Regions from separate parts of the Homo sapiens genome. Here regions 2, 3, 4, 5, 6 and 7 are each linked to region 1. The links are contacts of gene promoters, found by promoter capture Hi-C in blood cells and fetal thymus (Javierre and others, 2016). All regions are on one chromosome and are shown on one strand. The core of a region is centred on a gene start or on the middle of the fragment in contact, and the rest is flanking DNA. Distances in the headings are between cores, read along the strand shown.

Evidence for each region. Contacts are between HindIII fragments. The CHiCAGO score rates a contact against its expected background, and 5 or more counts as called.
Region 2: a contact is called between a fragment that was not itself captured here and the fragment with the promoter of PPP4R2 in region 1, in 3 of 17 cell types (naive B cells, total B cells and naive CD4 T cells). The highest score is 8.8, in naive B cells.
Region 3: a fragment that was not itself captured here is called in contact with the fragment with the promoter of PPP4R2 in region 1 in 1 of 17 cell types (neutrophils); the score reaches 6.3 in neutrophils.
Region 4: a contact is called between a fragment that was not itself captured here and the fragment with the promoter of PPP4R2 in region 1, in 3 of 17 cell types (fetal thymus, total B cells and naive CD8 T cells). The highest score is 9.5, in fetal thymus.
Region 5: a contact is called between a fragment that was not itself captured here and the fragment with the promoter of PPP4R2 in region 1, in 1 of 17 cell types (neutrophils). The highest score is 5.8, in neutrophils.
Region 6: a fragment that was not itself captured here is called in contact with the fragment with the promoter of PPP4R2 in region 1 in 1 of 17 cell types (M2 macrophages); the score reaches 5.3 in M2 macrophages.
Region 7: a contact is called between the fragment with the promoter of PROK2 here and the fragment with the promoter of PPP4R2 in region 1, in 10 of 17 cell types (erythroblasts, naive B cells, neutrophils and 7 more). The highest score is 10.2, in erythroblasts.

What each region holds. Positions count from the first base shown.
Region 1 is chr3:72,995,519-72,998,218 of GRCh38, reverse strand. It overlaps PPP4R2 (protein phosphatase 4 regulatory subunit 2), which reads right to left and starts at 1,408. Exons shown (of 9, transcript NM_174907.4): 1 at 1,148-1,408; 2 at 61-142. The coding sequence starts at 1,181. LOC124909395 (a long non-coding RNA gene) reads left to right here and starts at 1,028. Exons shown (of 2, transcript XR_007095961.1): 1 at 1,028-1,112. RefSeq lists enhancers at 424-473, 1,734-1,783 and a silencer at 924-1,553. The HindIII fragment of the contact is 5,282 bases long and covers 1-2,700 here.
Region 2 is chr3:71,744,288-71,746,987 of GRCh38, reverse strand. It overlaps a transcript of EIF4E3 not described here. Among named protein-coding and RNA genes, the nearest start is that of GPR27, 8.2 kb to the left of the region's middle. The HindIII fragment of the contact is 881 bases long and covers 876-1,756 here.
Region 3 is chr3:71,853,719-71,856,418 of GRCh38, reverse strand. No RefSeq gene overlaps it. Among named protein-coding and RNA genes, the nearest start is that of PROK2, 70 kb to the right of the region's middle. The HindIII fragment of the contact is 2,502 bases long and covers 69-2,570 here.
Region 4 is chr3:71,880,871-71,883,570 of GRCh38, reverse strand. No RefSeq gene overlaps it. Among named protein-coding and RNA genes, the nearest start is that of PROK2, 97 kb to the right of the region's middle. The HindIII fragment of the contact is 152 bases long and covers 1,215-1,366 here.
Region 5 is chr3:71,802,666-71,805,365 of GRCh38, reverse strand. No RefSeq gene overlaps it. Among named protein-coding and RNA genes, the nearest start is that of PROK2, 19 kb to the right of the region's middle. The HindIII fragment of the contact is 9,218 bases long and covers 1-2,700 here.
Region 6 is chr3:71,826,922-71,829,621 of GRCh38, reverse strand. It overlaps the pseudogene RN7SL271P. Among named protein-coding and RNA genes, the nearest start is that of PROK2, 43 kb to the right of the region's middle. The HindIII fragment of the contact is 1,433 bases long and covers 648-2,080 here.
Region 7 is chr3:71,783,714-71,786,413 of GRCh38, reverse strand. It overlaps PROK2 (prokineticin 2), which reads left to right and starts at 1,266. Exons shown (of 4, transcript NM_001126128.2): 1 at 1,266-1,457. The coding sequence starts at 1,362. LOC105377156 (a long non-coding RNA gene) reads right to left here and starts at 1,024. Exons shown (of 4, transcript NR_199161.1): 1 at 891-1,024; 2 at 667-778; 3 at 381-477; 4 at 1-197. The HindIII fragment of the contact is 4,477 bases long and covers 1-2,700 here.

The DNA.
Region 1 (2,700 bases), core at 159-2,658:
TCCTGAGCAATTCTTAATAATGCACTGGTCTATAACGACAAATGCATGTTTTCAACTCACATTGTTTCTCCAGTCTTGGCTACATGACAAAGAAACTGATCCAGGACAGGACAAACTTCCTTTTTCCCCCTCTTCTCAAAATCTAGATGAAGGAAGAAAAAAAAACGTTATCAGTTTTCTCAAAAGCGCTCTAAAAACAAACTTTCCTCCTAGTCCTTTACCTTATTAAAAATCAATTAAATACAAAATTAAAAAAATAAGGCCTCTCAACCAAATTACCACCTCAATCCTCCAAGTTCTACTTCCAACATGTCACCCTCTTTACAGATAACAAGAATCCTCCTAAAGGGGGCACTCAACTTCACAAACCATTTTTAACGCAGTGCTTCTCGAAGTGTGGTCCGGGGGAACACCAGCATTATATTAAGCTGGGAATCCAGTGAAAATAAAAATCCCCAGGCCCCGACTCCCACCAATTGTTCATCTAAGTCCATAAATCTGCCTTTCTAAGAAGCACCAACTACCCCAAGTTGCCGTCCCCAAATGATTCTGAATGTCAAAGAATAATTCTCAAAACGCTGAAATCTCTCTACTCGAAGTTTGTAAGCCACTGTTCTCAAGCCTGTTGCGTGGAAGGCGTGCAATCAAGAACAGTGAAGGCAACCACCTCGAAATTAGGGCGCGGAAAGATGACTTCAAAAGCCCTGAAAAAGGCATACTGAGACAACTTAAAAGTTGCGATGCTACCCCCTACCCCCGCCCCCACCAACCGTTTACTTTTTCTCCCACCCCAACGCCTAGCGTACGGGTAGCCTGGTGGAGAAAAGAGGATATCTGGGAGGGAGGGGTCTGCGGGTCCGCCACTCGTCCCCTGAACGGGTGGGAGAAAGACTGGGGCCCCCGCAAGAGTTTCCCCGGCTCCCCTCCCCCAGCCCAGACGCCGGCGGCCGACACAAAGCCAGAGCGGGGCGGGAGAGAGCTGCCCACAGGGCTCCCCGCCCCTGGGGAGGTGGAGGGGGATGGGAGCCCGGGAAGCACTCTCCCCACGCCGCGCCCGGCCCCGGTCCTCGGAACCATCCGCCCTGAAAGGAGAGAAGAGCGAGCCGGAGAAGGTGAGGGGGAATGGAGAGGGGGCAGCTACCCCCACCTTTCAGCGCCTCCTGGAGCCTCTCGACGTCCATGGCTTCCCGGAGTCCCTCACAGCCTCCGCCTCCCTCCGCGGGTCTCTTGGGGACCGGAACGCCTCCCCCCACCCCCCCGACGCCCTCCCCCTCCCTCGCACACACTCCGGCACGCAGGCGACCGGGGGGGGGAAACGAAGGGAGCCGGGGGAAGCGTGCGAGAGAGCAAGACCGACAGAGCGAGCACCTCCCCAAGCCGCTACCACCAACCCTCCAACATGGCGCCCGGTACGTCACCGCGCGCACGCTCCCTGCCGCCGTCCTCGCTCCCGCCGCGCGCTCCGGCCCGGAACCCGAGAGCGCGTGCGCGGCCGAGGTGTGACGCTGGGGCCCAGTGGCGTCTGCGTCCCGGCGGCTTCCAGAGCCTCAGCCCCAGCCCCAGCCCCAGGCCCAGGCTCCGCGGAGCTGAAGACTGGACGGTCAGGCGAGAGGGTTGCAGGCGGACTCCTAGGCTTTGAATCCCTGCCATTTCCTCTCTGTGTGAACTTAAGCTACTTACTTCGCCTGTCTGAGCCTCATTTTCCCCATCTGTACAGTAAGGGCACTGGTACTGATGCCCTATGCAGTTGCTGTGAGAATTCAGTGTATACACTTCACGTTCAGAATGCGCCTAAAAAACGTAGAGCGAGGCCGGGCAGGGGGCTCAGGCCGGTGATCCCAACACTTTGGGAGGGAGGCCGAGGCGAGAGGATCGCTTGAGCCCAGGAGTTCGAGACCAGTCTGGGTAACAAAATGACCCCGCTCCCTCGCCCTTCTCTATATAAAAATAAATACAGGCCGGGCGCGGTGACTCAAGCCTGTAATCCCAGCACTTTGGGAGGCTGGGGCGGGCGGAGCACCTGAAGTCAGGAGTTGAAGACCAACCTGGCCAACATGGCGAAACCCCGTCTCTACTAAAAATACAAAATGTAGTCGGGCGTGGTCGCTCGTGCCTGTAATCCCAGTTACTCGGGAGGCTGAGGCACGAGAATCGCTTGAATCCAGGAGGCGGAGGTTGCAGTGAGCCGATATCGCGCCACTGCCTCCAGCCTAGGCGACAAAGCGAGACTGTTTCAAAAAAATAATAATAAAATTAACAATACATACATACACTAAGCATTGCTAATAATCCTAACAAGAATACCTCCCTGCTTAACCCAACGTTCGTTCGTCACTGGCCCACCTGTGGCAAGAAGTAATGTATACAGCAAAGTCATTAAGAGCTCAAGGTTTGGAATCAATATTCAAATCCCAACTCAACTACTTACTCCTTGTGTGGCCCTGAAGTAGTTACCTAAACTCAGGCAGCTTCAGGGTTCTTATTTATAAAATGAGGGTTGTAAAACGGCCACGAGGATTGAGTGAAATGGCAAATGTGAAACATTTGGCACAGTGCGTGAAACCTGGAACACTCAACGTGGCTGGGTTTTTATTACCACTGTTAGCATTATTACATGACATAATCTCCCAGGAGGTAGGAGAGGGCGGAAACCTCAGAAGTCCTCTGCAGCCCTGACATTTTACAAATGGGAAAGCTGTG
Region 2 (2,700 bases), core at 67-2,566, 1.3 Mb after region 1:
ATACTATTCACTCATAATAACAAGTACTGGTATGTGATGCTCCAGCGTGGATGAACCTTGAAAATACTGTGCTCAATGAAAGAAGTCAAACACGAAAGACCACATATTGTACAAATCCACTTACATGAAATGCCCAGAACAGGTAAATCCATAGTGATAGAAAGTTGGTTAGTAGTTGCTGGGAGCTGGGGGAAAGGATTGGAGAGTGACCACTAATGGGTCCAGAGCTTTTTGGGGGGTGATGAAAATGTTCTAAAATTAGGTAATAGTGATAGTTCCACAACTCTGTGGATATCATAAGAAAACAGAATTATCAAAAAAATTCATATGAAAGTGAGGTCACCTCTGTGGCCTATGGAGGTGTCTTTATTAAAAGGTGGATAGGAGCCTGGCAAGTAACATGAACTCCTAGTTATGGCTTTCTGAGTGAGTGCAGATTCTTAAGGTGTGATTTCTTGTACTCTTACCTGAGGCTGGCCACAGAAATAAGTCATGCCTTGCCATATGATCATGTGCATAAGGATTGCCCCCTTTGGTGGGCCTTAACGTTTACGTGCTTTGGGGCTTTGATGTTTAGGTAAACCTGGGAAGAGAGATTAAGAAAGTTTTATTTAACCAATAGCTTTATATTACAGCACAGCCACTAGAAAAGCTATCATTTTTTAGATCCAAAAATGCACTAAGCTGTTTTGCATATATGATTAATAATTTACTCCTACAAAATCTCCTACCCCAGTTTGACAGATGAGGAGCCTTGAGTTTTAAAGCAATTAACCATAGTCTGTGGTCACACAGCACAAAGTAGAAGAGCAAGGTAAAATTCCAGTCTGTCTGGACCAAAAGCCTGAATTCTTGACAAATATGTACAGAAAGCTTTGTCGACTAATATATAATTGAAAGAAAATCTATTGGGATGATAGAAGTATTAAACTGGGATTGTATCTGCTAGTACAGAATTGCGAAAAACCATTATGCTAACGGCATAGGTGGCAGTATTTTAACCACCTGAAAATAAACACTTTCAATATCGAAAAGAAACAAACAAGGAGTCTACACTAACATGTTATCACTATTTACAATGCCATTATTGATATTTCTATAATGGTTTTCTAAGCAAGTTATAGCAACGGCTCCAAGTGAGAAAAAAAGGCCTTCTTAAAAAATGTGGCCCCTTTCTTTTGCATTATATTTACTAGCTGTTTAAACTCTCTCTAGTGGTTAAGTCATGTTGTGATCCTAAATTTTGCATTGACAGACTCAATGCAACCACCAGGACTACAGTGCTACTGGGAGTGCCGAAGATTACAAGATCAAACCTATTCCTTAAGCATCTCTTCATGTGCATGGAATAATGGTATAAATATTGCATATCAAAGCTGCTACTGCTGTAATCCTTGCCTTCATCTCCTTTCTCTCTTATTTGGTCGAAAATCAAATAGTGCATCGATTATTGATACTTTCTACTCTAGAGAATTACAGTGAATATACTTTATATGGTGGCGATTTGGGGGGTACATCCATATAAAATGTTCTGAACTATGGAACAGGTTCATAGTTCCATAAGACACATCTTTAAGTTCCTGTAAGACACATCTTTAAGGATGTACCTACTGTTTCTTGAATTGCTAGTTTACCTATTATGCAACGAGTTCCTTGTAATAAAATATGAAAGTTTGGCTCTTTTAAATGCCCACCCTCTATATACATACACCTCCCACACACATATAAATTTTTCCTATGCCACCAGCACCAAGCTTTGCATTGGGTTTTTATTTAGATGAGGTAGAGACCCTTTCATTTGCAGAATTGTAACAGTTGTTAAGGAGAGCATCTGTAAAAATAAATCTTAGAGATAAGGCAGACAGATTTTTATGATAAATCACATAAAAAGTATGACTTGGGTTCGATTCTCCTTAGACTCCCATGTGAACTTGCAGTGGTCTGATTTCCATATGTCAAACATTTTGGATAAACAGCTGCATTTCTCAGAGAAACCCCTGCTACCACCCTTCCTTCATTCTCTTACTTCATCTGGTCTGGACAGCTCCCTGCACAGCTGTGGCCCTGGCACTGCCTTCCAAAGCATGCTGTTCTCTTCTCTCCCTGTGAGACTTCCTGTTTCCTGGAATGAACCCACATCTTTCTCTTTCTTGTTTTATTCTTTTGTTTCATTTTCAAGTGGTATACATATATCAGTAGCTTCCTGAGAAAGCTGCTTTGGACGTAAATATATATATTTTTTTGAGACGGAGTCTCGCTCTGTCACCCAGCCTGGAGTGCAGTGGCACAGTCTCGGCTCACTGCAACCTCTGCCTCTCAGGTTCAAGTGATTCTTCTGCCTCAGCCACCTGAGTAGCTGGGACTACAGGCACGTGCCACCATGCCCAGCTAATTTTTGTACTTTTCATAGAGACGGGGTTTCACCATGTTGATCAGGCTGGTCTCAAACTCCTGACCTTGTGATCCACCCACCTCGGCCTCCCAAAGTGCTGGGATTACAGGCATGAGCCACCGTGCCCAGCCGGAGGTGAATATTTTAAGATTTTTTACGTATCTGGAAATGCTCTTACTTTACCTTCTTCATACTTGATAGTTTGGCTGGGAATAAAATTCTACTGGGTTGGCAATTATGACCAATGATATTGAACATTTTTTTCATGTGCTTATTTGCCATCTACCTATCTTCTTTGCTGATAAACC
Region 3 (2,700 bases), core at 70-2,569, 1.1 Mb after region 1:
AAGTCATTTCTAGAAGAGTGAACCCTGGAACTTTTGCTGTGACTATTGGGAAGAGCAGAAAGGAAGCTTCTTTCTGCTGGGGTAGCTGGGCTTCCAGAATATAAACCTAAAGTCACTAATGGCCAACTTACTACCATAGAGAAAAACATGGCTTAGAATGAAGCCAACTTAAGGCCAGGAGCAGTGGCTCACGCCTGTAATCCCAGCACTTTGGGAGGCTGAGGCGGGCGGATCACCTGAGGTCAGGAGTTCAAGACCAGCCTGGCCAACATGGTGAAGCCCCATCTCTACAAAAATACAAAAACTAGCCAGGGATGATGGCAGGTGCCTGTAATCCCAGCTACTCAGGAGGCTGAGGCAGGAGAATCACTTGAAACCGGGAGGCAGAGGTTGCCATGAGCTGAGTTTGTGCCATTGCACTCCAGCCTGGGCGACAGAGAAAGACACCATTTAAAAAAAAAAAAAAAAAAAGAATGAAGCCAGCATAAAGAAAAGCAGAACCATGAGAAGGGAAAAAGATTGCTTACAATCTTGTTTGAATACCAGATCCAGTCATGACTGTGCATAGATCTCTTGGTTACGTGAGCCCTTTTAAAAATTATTATTTTTTTTAATGAGTCAATTTCTGCCATTTGCAACTGGATGACTTCGGACTAAGACACAACAGACCTGAGACAGAATTGGGTACTAAGAGATCACTGCAGTCAAAACCAGTGAACAGTGACTGAGGGGGATGTCTGTCTTTGGGGCCAGTTGTAGGATTGGACGGTTTTGAATGAGCCAGATGTCTAGACATCAAAAATGAAGCCCCACTTCAGGACTAGACTAGCAGCATAGGTGATCCTCTCTGGTGCCTGCTTTTCCAAACCAAGTTTTAGACACTCCCTACTTCTCATGCAGAATCTAGCCATAACAAACTTCTTCACAAATTCCTCAGCCTCATTTTTTGTTCTCTTTCTTATATCTGGGGACGCTTGCTATCCTTTCAATAGTGAGAACTTTTTCCTACGCCCATCCTTAATAATTATTTTCCTTATAAATTCTCCTTATGTGTCAGATACTCTGACAATAAACATTATATATAAATACATTTATAGTTGTGTCATAATATAGATATATTTTAATATTATATATTTTAATCTTTATCCATGAGGACAATAACCTATGAGGTCAGAATTATTATTATTTTCATTTTTTAAATGTGGAAATTGAGGCTGAGGTGGGTACATTGACTTGCCCAGGATGTGAACCTTGGCCATCAGACCCTAGACTGCACCCTTCTAGCCATTATGACATGAGGACTCCATCTTGCCTAAACACCCTTATTTAGCCTTTGGGTCTCACTCAGATCTACCCTTAAATCAACGTTGGTTCCCCACTGCTGTGTACTTCCCTGGGCCCGCTGTTCTTCCCTTCTGATAGCTGTCAGCACACTCTTCTATAGTCGCTTTGTTCAATTGTCTGTCTTTCCTGCCAGGCTGGGCCCCATAAATGTGTAGCCTGTGTCCCCTGTGACTCCAGCCTCTTCTCAGTGTCCAGCATATAAAAGATCCTCAGCGACAATTTCAATAACTAAAGGAAGAATGACTGGTGAATGACAGGTGTTGGCTTGAGTGAATCTTGCCTTTTGTTCAGACTGAAACTGAAAGTTATGTGAAAAGTGACCATTGTCACCAAAGGATCAAGGAACTTGGGCTGTAAGGGGCCAAGGATGGATACAGAGAAGAATTTAGACACAGCTTGATCTAGCCCCAGAGTCTGCAGAATGGGGGATTCCAGGCCTGGTACCAGATAAGGAGAGACTGTTAGGCAAGGGGGTCTTGCCACCTCTCAAATCACATCCTGTATCCACCCTGCTCACCCCACAACCTGGATTCTCTTTAGCTGTCTTCTTCAGCAGCTGTGAACTTTCAAAAGCAGGAGTTTTGTCTTTCAGCTCTGTTTCCCAGCTCTCAACCCAATGCCCAGCAGCCCATGGGCCCTCCTGGGTGCTGCTAGCTGTCTAGTCATTCAGTGATGGGGTACTTGCTCCCAAGGCAACCCCCATTGCTCTCCTGGGGCTGAAGCGTGATGGAGAAGGCCACTGTTCATTTCCAGCTAGCTTTCTGCTCTGTGCAGCTTTGGCAGAAGTGCCGACTCTTCAAAGGATGGGTGCATTGACATTTCACAACTCTGCATGCTTTCTGATGATTCCTGATAATGCTATCTGCCAAATAGCAGATATTGCTCTCCACGACTAAAAAATGAGATTGCTCAAATGTCCCTCTAGACATCATAGACAGTTTTCATATTCATTCATTTATTCGCGTATTCATCATTCAGCAAATATTTACTGAACACATATTAAGGCACATGCTAGGTTCATGGCTACCGAGGAGGGCAGTAGGAAATGGATCAGTAAAACATGAATGCTCTCTAAAAGCTGAGTTGAAGACACAAAAGCTACTCTTTCTAAGATACCCACTGTGTGCCAGGCATGTGCTAAATAATCTCCATATATTGTCTCCTTTATTCTTCACTATCACTATTGGATATTAGATGAGGCAGCTGAAGATCTGAATGTGAAAGCTTCTTGCTCAAGACCATACAGCTAGTGAGAAACAGAATGGGGATTCCATTCCCAATCTCTGAGATACCAGTGCCTAGTTCTTTCCTCTGTGCTGCACTGCCTCCAAAATAAGGATCAGATTGGAGGTAAGC
Region 4 (2,700 bases), core at 41-2,540, 1.1 Mb after region 1:
TCTCTCCTTCAAGGACTCTGAAAAGTAGGTTAGATCACTTGATGTGATCCCATAGGTCACTGAAACTCTATTCAGTTTTTTTTTTTCATCTTTTATTCTCTGCATGCTTCAGTTTGATTAGTTAACTATTGCCCTGTCTTTGAGTTCACTAATATTTTCTTCTGTAGTGTCTCTATTAATCCCATCCAGTGAATTTTTATGTCAAATCTTGTATTTTTCAGTTTTTATAATTTGGTTCTTTTTTATAGTTTCCATTTCTCTATTGAGATTTGCCATCTATTTCCTCATAACATTTTTGTTTTCCTTTAACATCTTTGACTGTGTATATAGTAGCTGTTTAAAAGCCTTTTCTTCTATTTCCTTCTTCTTGTTTCTTCTGATTTGTTTCAATTATTGACTGATTTTCTGTCCTTCACATTTTCCTGCTTCTTCAGGTGTCTGTGCATATTTTATTGTGTTCTGGGCATTTTGGATGATGCATTGTTCAGTGTCTGGATTTTGTCGTCTTCCTTTAAATATCAGATTTTGTCTGGCAGACAGTTAATTTCCTTATGGATCAGCTTGATCCTTTGAGGTTTGTTTTTAATGTTTGTTAGGGAGGGGCTAATATATCTTTAACTCCAAGACAATAGTAACCTTCTCCTAACACATGGCCTTTCTTGAGGGTCAACTGAGTACCCAGAATTTTCAAAGCAGCCTATTCATTTACACTTACAACAATACACTTCTGTTCCATATGAGATTGTATACGCCATATACACTTAAGCCAATATCTCTTGGAAGGCTGAGTCAGGCAGATTGCTTGAGCCCACGAGTTTGAGACCAGCCTAAAAATATGGCAAAACCCTGTCTCTTCAAAAAGTACAAAAATTTGCTGGGTGTAGTGGCGCGTATCTGTAGTCCCAGCTACTCGGTAGGCTGAGGTGGGATGATCACTTGAGCCCAGGAGGTCAAGGCTGCAGTGAGCTGAGATCACACTACTGCATTCTAGCCTGGGCAAAAGAGTGAGACCCTGTCAAAATAAAAAAACAAAAACAACAGCAACAAAAAAACTCAGTTCCATACAAGCTCCAAATCTCAATTCAGCTCATAGCTTTGTTCTTTTCCTAGCCACCTGGATTCGTGTGCTGCATACTTGTCACTTGGTACCCAAAGAGTCTAGGATTCCTGAAGCTTCTTTTTTTTTTTTTTTTTCTGAGCAGATTTCAGAAGCTTCTTCTCTGTATGACTGCTACTTCTCTAGAACTCTGCCCTGTAAATTCCAGCCATGTTATCAGACCTAACTCCAGTCTCATCACATCTCTTCAGTAACACTGCCATTCTCTGTTTCAGTTTTCCTTCCATGTGCCATGATCTGGAAAAAGCTTTAAAAAAAGTAGATCAATCAACGTCTTCACTTTTTGCAAGTGAAGGCCAAGTTATAATGTAAGCAAGTCTCCAAGTTGTGGCCCATATATTACAGATATATTATTTAAACGTACTTATTAAATACAAGGCATAAAATGGCTTATAGAAAATGTTTTTGCAAGCTGGATGAAGTCCCAGGTCTTTGCCCTTTTAACCTCACCTTTCCTAAAAAGGTTCACATGCAGCAGGCATGACACTAGCCTCGAGGCAGCAGCAGGAGACCAGGAGACAAAGTCTCCAGTGTCATCCCTGAGAGTACCCACTGCAGGCCTCCCTGGACTTTCTACCCTCTTACAAGGGCAGAGGACTGGCCCCACAATGCTCTGGCCAAGCCATGTATCCTGACTACCACTAAATTGCCCAAGGAGAATCCACTTACAGCATCTAATATGTTAATTTAAAACCTCTAATTTTAACAGAACATATTTCTAATGTTCATTTTGTGAATGACCAAAGACTCTGGATTTCACGCAAGGATTAGCAATGCTTTTAGAATCAATGTTTCTGAAATCCTTTCTGATTAAAACCAAGCTGATTGCCCTGGTGTATAAATTTCTCATCTGGGTAGCAGTCTGCCCCTAGCATGCAGCTCGAGCTAACACATACAAAATACTACACTGTGTGGAGCTATTTAAACTTCCCGTACATCTCACCATACACAGAGCTGGCATGAGAAAAATCTAAAATCTGGATCAGGTGCTGATGTAATGAATGGGAACAAAATAAACTGGAAGCCTCCCCTCACAAGGATGGTCTGGCTCCCAAGGCTATTTCTCCCTTCATGAGCTGATTTTTCACGTGAGACACCTCAGCATGATCTCAGTTCTTCTCTGTCCTTTTCTCCACTGCTGCTGGGCTGACCAGCATGGAGGTCACAGGGCAGCATGCCAGGAGGGGTAGGGCCTCCATATTCCATGGGTCAGAGCATGTTACAAGGCCAGCCCCAGTCATTCAAGGAATGGGGAAATAAATTTAATGGTAAGAGCTACAAAGAGTTTATGCTAATATTTCATCCACCACACCCTGGATACAAATGTATAATTACCAACTAAAGAAAGTCACCCTGAAGACAAGGAGCAGGGTTCTACGGGAATGTCAGAGGAGTGGAAGAAATCTCAGGGCTCAGAGGAATCTAACTTGACCAAAAGCTCAGATCGCCCCTTAAAACCTATGTCTAAGATCTCAAGAATAAAGAGGGACAAGGAAAGGGTAGCGTTTAGGCAGCAGAATGACACATGCAAAGACACGTGGCAGGTGGTACATTTCACAAATGTGAAGAATGCAAAAAACTTT
Region 5 (2,700 bases), core at 122-2,621, 1.2 Mb after region 1:
AGAAATGGGGGAGGTGCCACACAGCTTTAAACAACCAGATCTTGTGAGAACTCACTCGCTATACTGTACCAAGGGGGGATGGTACTAAACCATTCATGAGAAACCCGCCCTCATGATCCAATCACCTCCCGCAAGTCCCACCTCCAGCATTGGGGGTTGTAATAATTCCAGTTCTCAGCCAATGGCAGGCTTCCTTCTTTCAAGCCTTGACTTTTCAGGGGAGAGCTCTCTGGGGCCTGGAGGAGGCATTGCTCTAGGGGTCAGGCACCATGCCCCACAGTGGCATCACTGCTTGAGAGCACCCAGAACAATGAAAGGCAGCCTGTGAGCCAGGGGAGGGTCCACTCAAACCAAGGGTGTATGGAGCAAACTGCGTAAGCATTGAGGCCCCAGGAGAGATTTGCACAGGAGATGCAGGTGCCCAGTATGATCAATCCCTCTCCCCAGACCTCCAGCCATCATTTGCAATAACCGAAGTTAACATTACCTGATGCTTTGCTTCTGGGGAACCAGTGTGCACAACCTCCTTAAAAAAAATAAGGGTTTGGCTGGGCTTGGTGGCTCACACCCATAATCCCAGCACTTTGGGAGGCCAAGGCAGGTGAATCACCTGAGGTAAGGAGTTCGAGACCAGCCTGGCCAACATGGCAAAACCTCATCTCTACAAAAAATACAAAAATCAGCCAGGTGTGGTGCTGCACACCTGTAATCCCAGCTACTCGGGAGGCTGAGGCAGGAGAATTGCTTGAAACTGGGAGATGGAGGTTGCAGTGAGCCGAGATTATGCCAATGCACTCTAGCCTGGGCAACAAGAGTGAAACTGCGTCTCCAAAAAAAAAAAAAAGAAAAGAAAAGAAAAAAAGGAAAAAAAACGGTTTGTGGCATGTAGTGGGGCGAGACTTTCAGATTTCTGAGCAGGAACCTAAGCTGATAGAAGAATTGTACACACTAAAAATGCCTGGTCCCTGTCATATTGTAGTGATCTGTGACCTTAAATTTAAGTATTCAACTTTCACCAGGTTATTTTGAATTTGAGTTCTGCTAGATAGAATCAAACCTATGTAAGGCTGGGCACGGCAGCTCGCGCCTGTAAATCCCAGCACTTTGGGAGGCCAAGACAGGTGGATCATTGAGGTCAGGAGTTTGAGACGAGGCTGACCAACATGGTGAAACCCTGTCTCTACTAAAAATATTAAAAAATTAGCCAGGCATGGTGGTGCACGCCTGTAATCCCAGCTACTCAGGAGACTGAGGTAGGAGAATTGCTTGAACCCAGGAGATGGAGATTGTAATGAGCCAAGATCACTCCACTGCACCCCAGCCTGGGCGTCAGGGGGAGACTCTGTCTTATAAAAAAATAAAAAGAATCAAACCTATGTTACTAATTGTTACTGAATCATCTGAATTTGACTGGCTTCAAAAGTGTCTTTCCAACAGGACTGTTTGTTTAATTGGGTTTAATATTATGCATTTTTCAACCAGTCTTGAAGAAGTTTTCAAACTCCCACTATGTGTCAGGTGCTATGCTAGGCACTGGGTGAATTAAAAAGGCATAGTCTGGTCCCCGGAAGCAGACTCAGAGATAAAGATTTTTGTGAAAATGATTTATGAAGGCAGGGTCTCCTGGGAACACTGGGCAAAGTAAGAGTAGGGGAACACGGCAAAGCAAGAGGAAGAAGCCCACCAGAGTGGCGATCTCAAACCAAAGGCCAGACTCCACCTGATCCTGCAGGGAGCTCTGGAGAGTCAACTGCATCTAAGGGTTTTTCCTGAGTCAGAATAAAGGAGCTGGGCTTTCATTCTGCTGGGTTAGCAGGTCCTTGGCTACTGGCTACCCCAAGCAGAAAAAAGCACTCCGGCATTTCTGGCCCTCTGCACAAGCAGAGCAGGGCCTCTCTGGGAGCCTGAGAGCAGTTCTGTTGCAGGTCCCACTGACATAGCAAAAGAACAATGCAGCCAAAGTAGGAGAGCATGGAAATGGTAAAGGAATGTGAGGGCTTCTGAGCTGAGCATCAGCAGTGGCTGCTACAAGGTCCCTAAAAGATGGTAATAGTCAGGGGCTAGGCACTCACGCCTGTAATCCTAGCACTTTGGGAGGCCGAGGCAGGTGGGTCACTTGAGGTCAGGAGTTTGAGACCAGCCTGGCCAACATGGTGAAACCCCATCTCTACTAAAAATACAAAAAAAGTAGCTGGGCATGATGGCTGATGCCTGTTATCCCAGCTACTTAGGAGGCTGAGGGATGAGAATCGTTTGAACCTAGGAGGTGGAGGTCGCAGTGAGCTGAGATCACACCACAGCACTCCAGCCTGGGTGACAGAGGGAGACTCTGCCTTTAAATAATAATAATAATAATGTTTTACCAGCTATCTGGGCATCCCTTCTCCCAGTCAGCTTGACACATAAAATTAACCATTATATCTGCCATTATCAAATGCAATAAATGCAGCATAGGAAATAAATAAAGTGCAATTTTGTAAGTACCTATTTGGGAAGAGGCAGACATTCTCAACCTGCAAGCACTCTAACCTTTCCCCTTCCCCTGACTCCCCAACTAGACATAGGCCCCGTGCTGGTGATGGAGCAGCCATGGTGCCCCCACCAGGAGCTATGTGTGAGGACCAACATTCCAAGAATGGCTGGGTGGGAAGATGGAAGAAGCCCCTGCCTCTGATGGCATCGTGGAGCATGGGCACCAGC
Region 6 (2,700 bases), core at 115-2,614, 1.2 Mb after region 1:
GAAATGAATAGTTCTGTGTCGTCCTTGAAATATCATTACCTGTTTTTCAAAAAAGCATTTTCCCATTTGTATTTTTCCTTAATGTAATACATTTGTTTGCATCCTTGTTCAGAGAAAGGGTTTGAAATATGTCAGAAATGTTCCTTAATTCCAGTTGAAAATATCAATGTTTCAAGAGTTCAAAAGAGACTTTAAAAAATCACTGGTTTAAAAAATCACTGGTGCTTAAAAATATGCCCTTTCAAAAAATGTAATATTGGAAACCAATGAATCCGCTCTTGCTCTCAAATGAAGATGAATATTTATTAAAAAGATTGACTGCTACTACAAAAACGCATTGGTGGAAATGTATCAAAAATGAAATAACAAGTATACATTATATTTTGAGAGTATTTTTGTTCAATACCATTCTTAGCCCAAGTGATTAAATATTTATTGCAGAAGAATAAAGCCTTACAACTTAGTGCAACCAAGATCTCTGTACAATGAAGTGAAGTCAGCTGCCAATGCCCTAACTATTTTGAACAACTTGAACAGCAAAATCTGAAGTTAGCAAAAGCTTGTAGATGGTTATACCATTTTATCATCACCATAGCCCTAGAAAATTGATATAACCACCTTCATTTTAAAGATGAAGAAAAAAAGCTTAGCGTGGCTTGGTAATGTGTGCAAGATAACACAGCTTGTGTCAGTGTTGCTATCAATACCATGGACTTCCAGATCCAAATCCAGTGTTCTTGCATCTATATCTCAGTGGGTTCTAGATTGGGCCAAAATTACACCCACCCTCTCAGTGGCTTTCTCTGAGGTCCTTCTGTTGTGTACAGCTCTCACTTTTGTCTAATGTTATTTTGATGAGAAACTCTTTCCCATTCCAAGTAGTTCTGGTGGGGCTGTCAACCACAGTACCTAACCACCCCCACAAACACACACACCCGTATTCCTGTTCTCCCCTGTGCTGGACTGTACCATCGCTGGGTTGGACCACTCATCATCCCTGTGGTTGTTCCAGTTCCAGTTGACATCCTTTCTAAGAATTTTCCAAACTGGGATAAAAGTGTGGCTTACCAGGAAGAACTCAGTCTCTCTCTCTCTCTCTCTCTCTCTCTCTCTCTCTCTCTCTCTCTCTCTCAATAAATTGTAAGTAATTAGGTCTTGTAATGTCAGTGGTCCTTTCCCACTCCCCCATCCCCAGCCCCCTAACACTGCCACTTAGAAAGCCTGTCTACATAGAATTAGTCCAACACACAAGGAGAAGTGGAGATGAGAGATGAATGGAGAGAGAATCCAGAGGATTCTGTGAAGCCTGGATCCAGCCACAGCTACACTTTCAGTTGACATGAGCCAGTACATTTTCTTTTTCATTAAGCTAAGTTGAATTGAGTTTTTATCATTTTCAGTTAAAAGGGTCTGGGGCCGGATGCGGTGACTCACGCCTGTAATCCCAGCACTTTTGGAGGCCTACGTGGGCGGATCACTTGAGGTCAGGAGTTCGAGACCAGTCTGGCCAACATGGTGAAACCCCGTCTCTACTAAAAACACAAAAATTAGTCAGGCGTGGTGGCAGATGCCTGTAATCCTAGCCACTCAGGAGGCTGAGGCAGGAGAATTGCTTGAACCTGGGAGGCAGAGGTTGCAGTGAGCCAAGATTGCACCACTGCACTCCAGCCTGGGCCACAGAGTGAGACTCTGTCTCAATAAAATAAAATAAAATAAAATAAAAATAAGTTATAGTCATTCCTACAATGAAATACTCCAGAGAAGTTAAAATGAATGAAATGAATCTAATGTGTCAATATAGATCCACCTCAGAAACATGATAAGGTATATAAAATCAAATTGCAGGAAGATATGTGGAATTTGATATCATTTACCCAGATGCTAAAAATCCCCAAACAAAGTTTATATATTATTCCCTGTAATTTTGTCTATGTTTAATTTTTTCATAATAAAGTTCAAAAATACATCGTATATTGCTTCATCTTACACAAATATGTAATAAAACACGAAAACATAAATTAGAAGAATATCTGCTTCAATGCACCTTTGAAGAAGGAGGGAGAAGAGTACAAAAGAAGCTTCCACTGAATCAATGCTTTGTTTCTTTGGGAAAAAATTTCACATGAAACAAATATGACAAAATTTTGCTTTGAGTTGGGGTTTCACTATATTGCCCAGGCTGGAGTGCGGTGCCTATTCACAGATGCTATCCTGCTGCTGATCAGCATGAGAGTTTTTAACTGCTTGGTTTCTGAGCTGGGCCGGTTTACCCCTCCTTAGGTAACCTGCTGTTGCCTGCTTTCAAGAGGTCACCATACGGATGTCAAACTTAGTGTGGACACCCAATTGACATAACACACTACAGCCCAGAATTCCTGGGTTCAAGCAATCCTGCTTCAGCCTCTCGAGTAGCTAGGACTACAGGTATGTGCCACCACACCCAGCTAGCAAAATGTTCAGAGTTAATTAGGTCTAGGAGGGAGGTAGATTCTTGTATGTTAGAATTTTTTTGAAAAGAAAGAATATTAGAAAAAAAGTCAAACATTAAACACTTACAAAAAGATACAAATTGACAATCAACTGCTCAATTAATTAATTAATGAGGGACTGTTTGCCCCAACATCCTTTGGCTGCCACTAGAGAGGAGATGGCATTCTGTCTGCAAGCACAAAGACTAGGGGAAGAAAGGTAAAGATAGGA
Region 7 (2,700 bases), core at 17-2,516, 1.2 Mb after region 1:
TTATTAAAGAGGCTGAAAGACGCATCTGCTTTTCAATAGTTTGCGGTTCTTAAGAGACCAGGAAAGCCAGAGGTTCTGACTATTCAGGAAGAAAGTTGGGTTTCCCAAAACGGGCAAGCAAGTTCGGTGTGGTCACATCTAGGTATTCTTGACGTCATTTTTGTTGAGGGAAACAGGCTGCAGTTTTTGGAGCCAGGCTAGGATGAGAGATGGAGGGCAAATCTGTCACTTATTCTTTCCTGGTGTGCCTGGAACCCACTAGACACTCAATTCATGTTTACGTGAATGAAGGAATCACAATAACGCCCTATCGCATCTGTAAAACCGAAGGGTGATTTTCCTGGGCTGGAAAGTTTAAGAAAGAAGAGAGAGCTGCGTACCTAGGGCTTAAGGGGCCTCAGGCTGGCACTCGAAACCAGGCGTTCTCATTTCCCTTTGGCATCACCCTGAACGGCTGTGCCTGGAGCTGGCGCGGGGCTGAAGAGGGGAGGAAATACATGTGAGGAAAATCAGAGGAGAGGGTCGGGAACAGATGTGGGCATAAAGGGAAGGCCTCTGACTTGAAATAAACAAATAGGAGTCCCGCAGCTGGAAGGACAAATCCTTTCACGTCGCGGGTGATGTGGGATTGGGGCGATTTTGCTCTCCCTTTGTTCTTTCCCCTGCCTTCCACGTTTCCAGGGTATTTGATTGATGTCTGTCTTCTCTGTTAAGTTATTCCACCGTGAGGAGAGAGCCGGTGGCAGTACCTGGCACGCAGCGGGCGCCCAGTATAGACCTGCTGAACAAACGAATGGATTCAGGGGCTGCTGTGTCCCCCTCACCCACCCCCCGCCCCCTATGTGTCCACAGCGCCCCGCACGTAGTAGGCGACCCCTAAACATCTGTACAGCAAATGATTTGCAAGTTTTCGGCGCTGAGCACGTGGAGCTTTGGAAACCAGGACAGCAAATGAGTGTCTCGGAGACCACAAAAGCGGTTCCGGCGCGTGCGAAAGGCGGTGGCTGGGCGACGGCGGAGGGAACGGCGCAGAGCGGGGCGCCCCGCCGGGAGCGCTGCCTGCGTGGCGCCCGAGGCGGGGGCGCGGGGGGCCGCGCATAGCACGTGCTCGTCTGGGAGCCGGCCGGGCCGAGGCGGGCGCGCGTGTGCGCGTGGGGCGTGGGGTGTGTGCCCGCGCCGTGCCCCCCGCGTGTGCTGCCGGGCGGGCGCCGGCGTGAGTCACGGCGGGGCTAGCCTTTATAACGGCCCGGAGGCTCGCGGGAGCCGCCGCGCCCGTCCGCCCGCCGCTCCGCGCTCCACCCAGCGCACCCGGGCCCCGCGCCCCCAACTGCCTCCGGCGGCCGCCCAGTCCCGAGGGCGCCATGAGGAGCCTGTGCTGCGCCCCACTCCTGCTCCTCTTGCTGCTGCCGCCGCTGCTGCTCACGCCCCGCGCTGGGGACGCCGCCGTGATCACCGGGGTAAGCGGCCCGGGCGCACCTGTCTGCCCCTGATGCGCGCCTGGGATGTGCCCAGGGGGCTTGGGACGGGGACCCTGAAGGGCAGGCTAGAGGCAAAGGGAGGGTCGCCCTGGGCGGGGACACCTGCCCCTGTCGCCCCTTGGTGCACTTGGGAAAATACCCAGATCCAAAAGCAGCAGACGGCTGGGGACACTGGGCGCGTCCTGGAAGAAACAGTGACAAGGATGTCGCCCACCACCTTTATTACCACCTTCTCCCGCTTACTTCTCCCTCATCACCCACGGCCTCACTCCTCGCATTTTTCTTCTGTTAGGCTGAAAGAAGTTTCTCTCTGAGTCTTCTCAAGTACTTTTGGAGGCTCTCCAACCTCGAACCTTAAAATTTGACGGCCCCTTCCTGAAATGCAAAGGACCAAGACGAATTCCCCAAGTGCCCAGAGTCTTAATCCTACAGTCAAAGAGTTTGCTCCCCGATGCGTCCTCCGCAGAAACCCTTTGAAATCGCTTGGTCCAGGGCCATGTGAGCGCTTTGAAAAGCAATTGTGGGAGCTTCCTTCTGGGTTCCGGGGCTTTCCCCCGCGCTCAGGGTCTTGAGGTATCCCCATAAAAGTTTTAAATTTCTAATTCCTGGCAAAGCACCTCCAGTGCTCCAGCATAATGATGGAGTAGGTTGCTGTGTAGATGTTTAAACTTAGAGACGATGTTTTCATCTTTTCTGTAAGTAGGAACTAGTTCAGTTCTCTCCCACTCTCAACAATTTTGTGTGGATCTGAAAAAATTGGGTTTGCAGTACAATACTAAATAGTCTAGTTTACATTAACAAGGCAAAACTGCTATCATTTCCTGGTTGTTCAACTTCTTTACTGTTTTTTAAGTGAGGAATTATTTCACACCTTCATTAAATTACTTCAAATATTTAAGTGCACATAATGGGATTTAAATAAAACGTCTATGTTTGAAATGTTGATACATAGATAATATCATTTGACTTTAAAGGAAGTATCTTTGTCTTGAAAAAATCAAGCTCTATTTTCTCTATATTAGTTATTAGGTTTATAGAATTTTGAAAGTCCTTTTGCTATGACAGCATTTGTATATATCCAACAGATATTTAACTGTAAGCTCTGTGATATTTATTAGAAAAGAGATTTTTTCAAAAAATTACTTGCATAGCTTTGCCAGTCCATGTGGTTGAGAAAAACTTTTTGCAGGTCTTTCTAATACATGAGAATTGAAACATGATT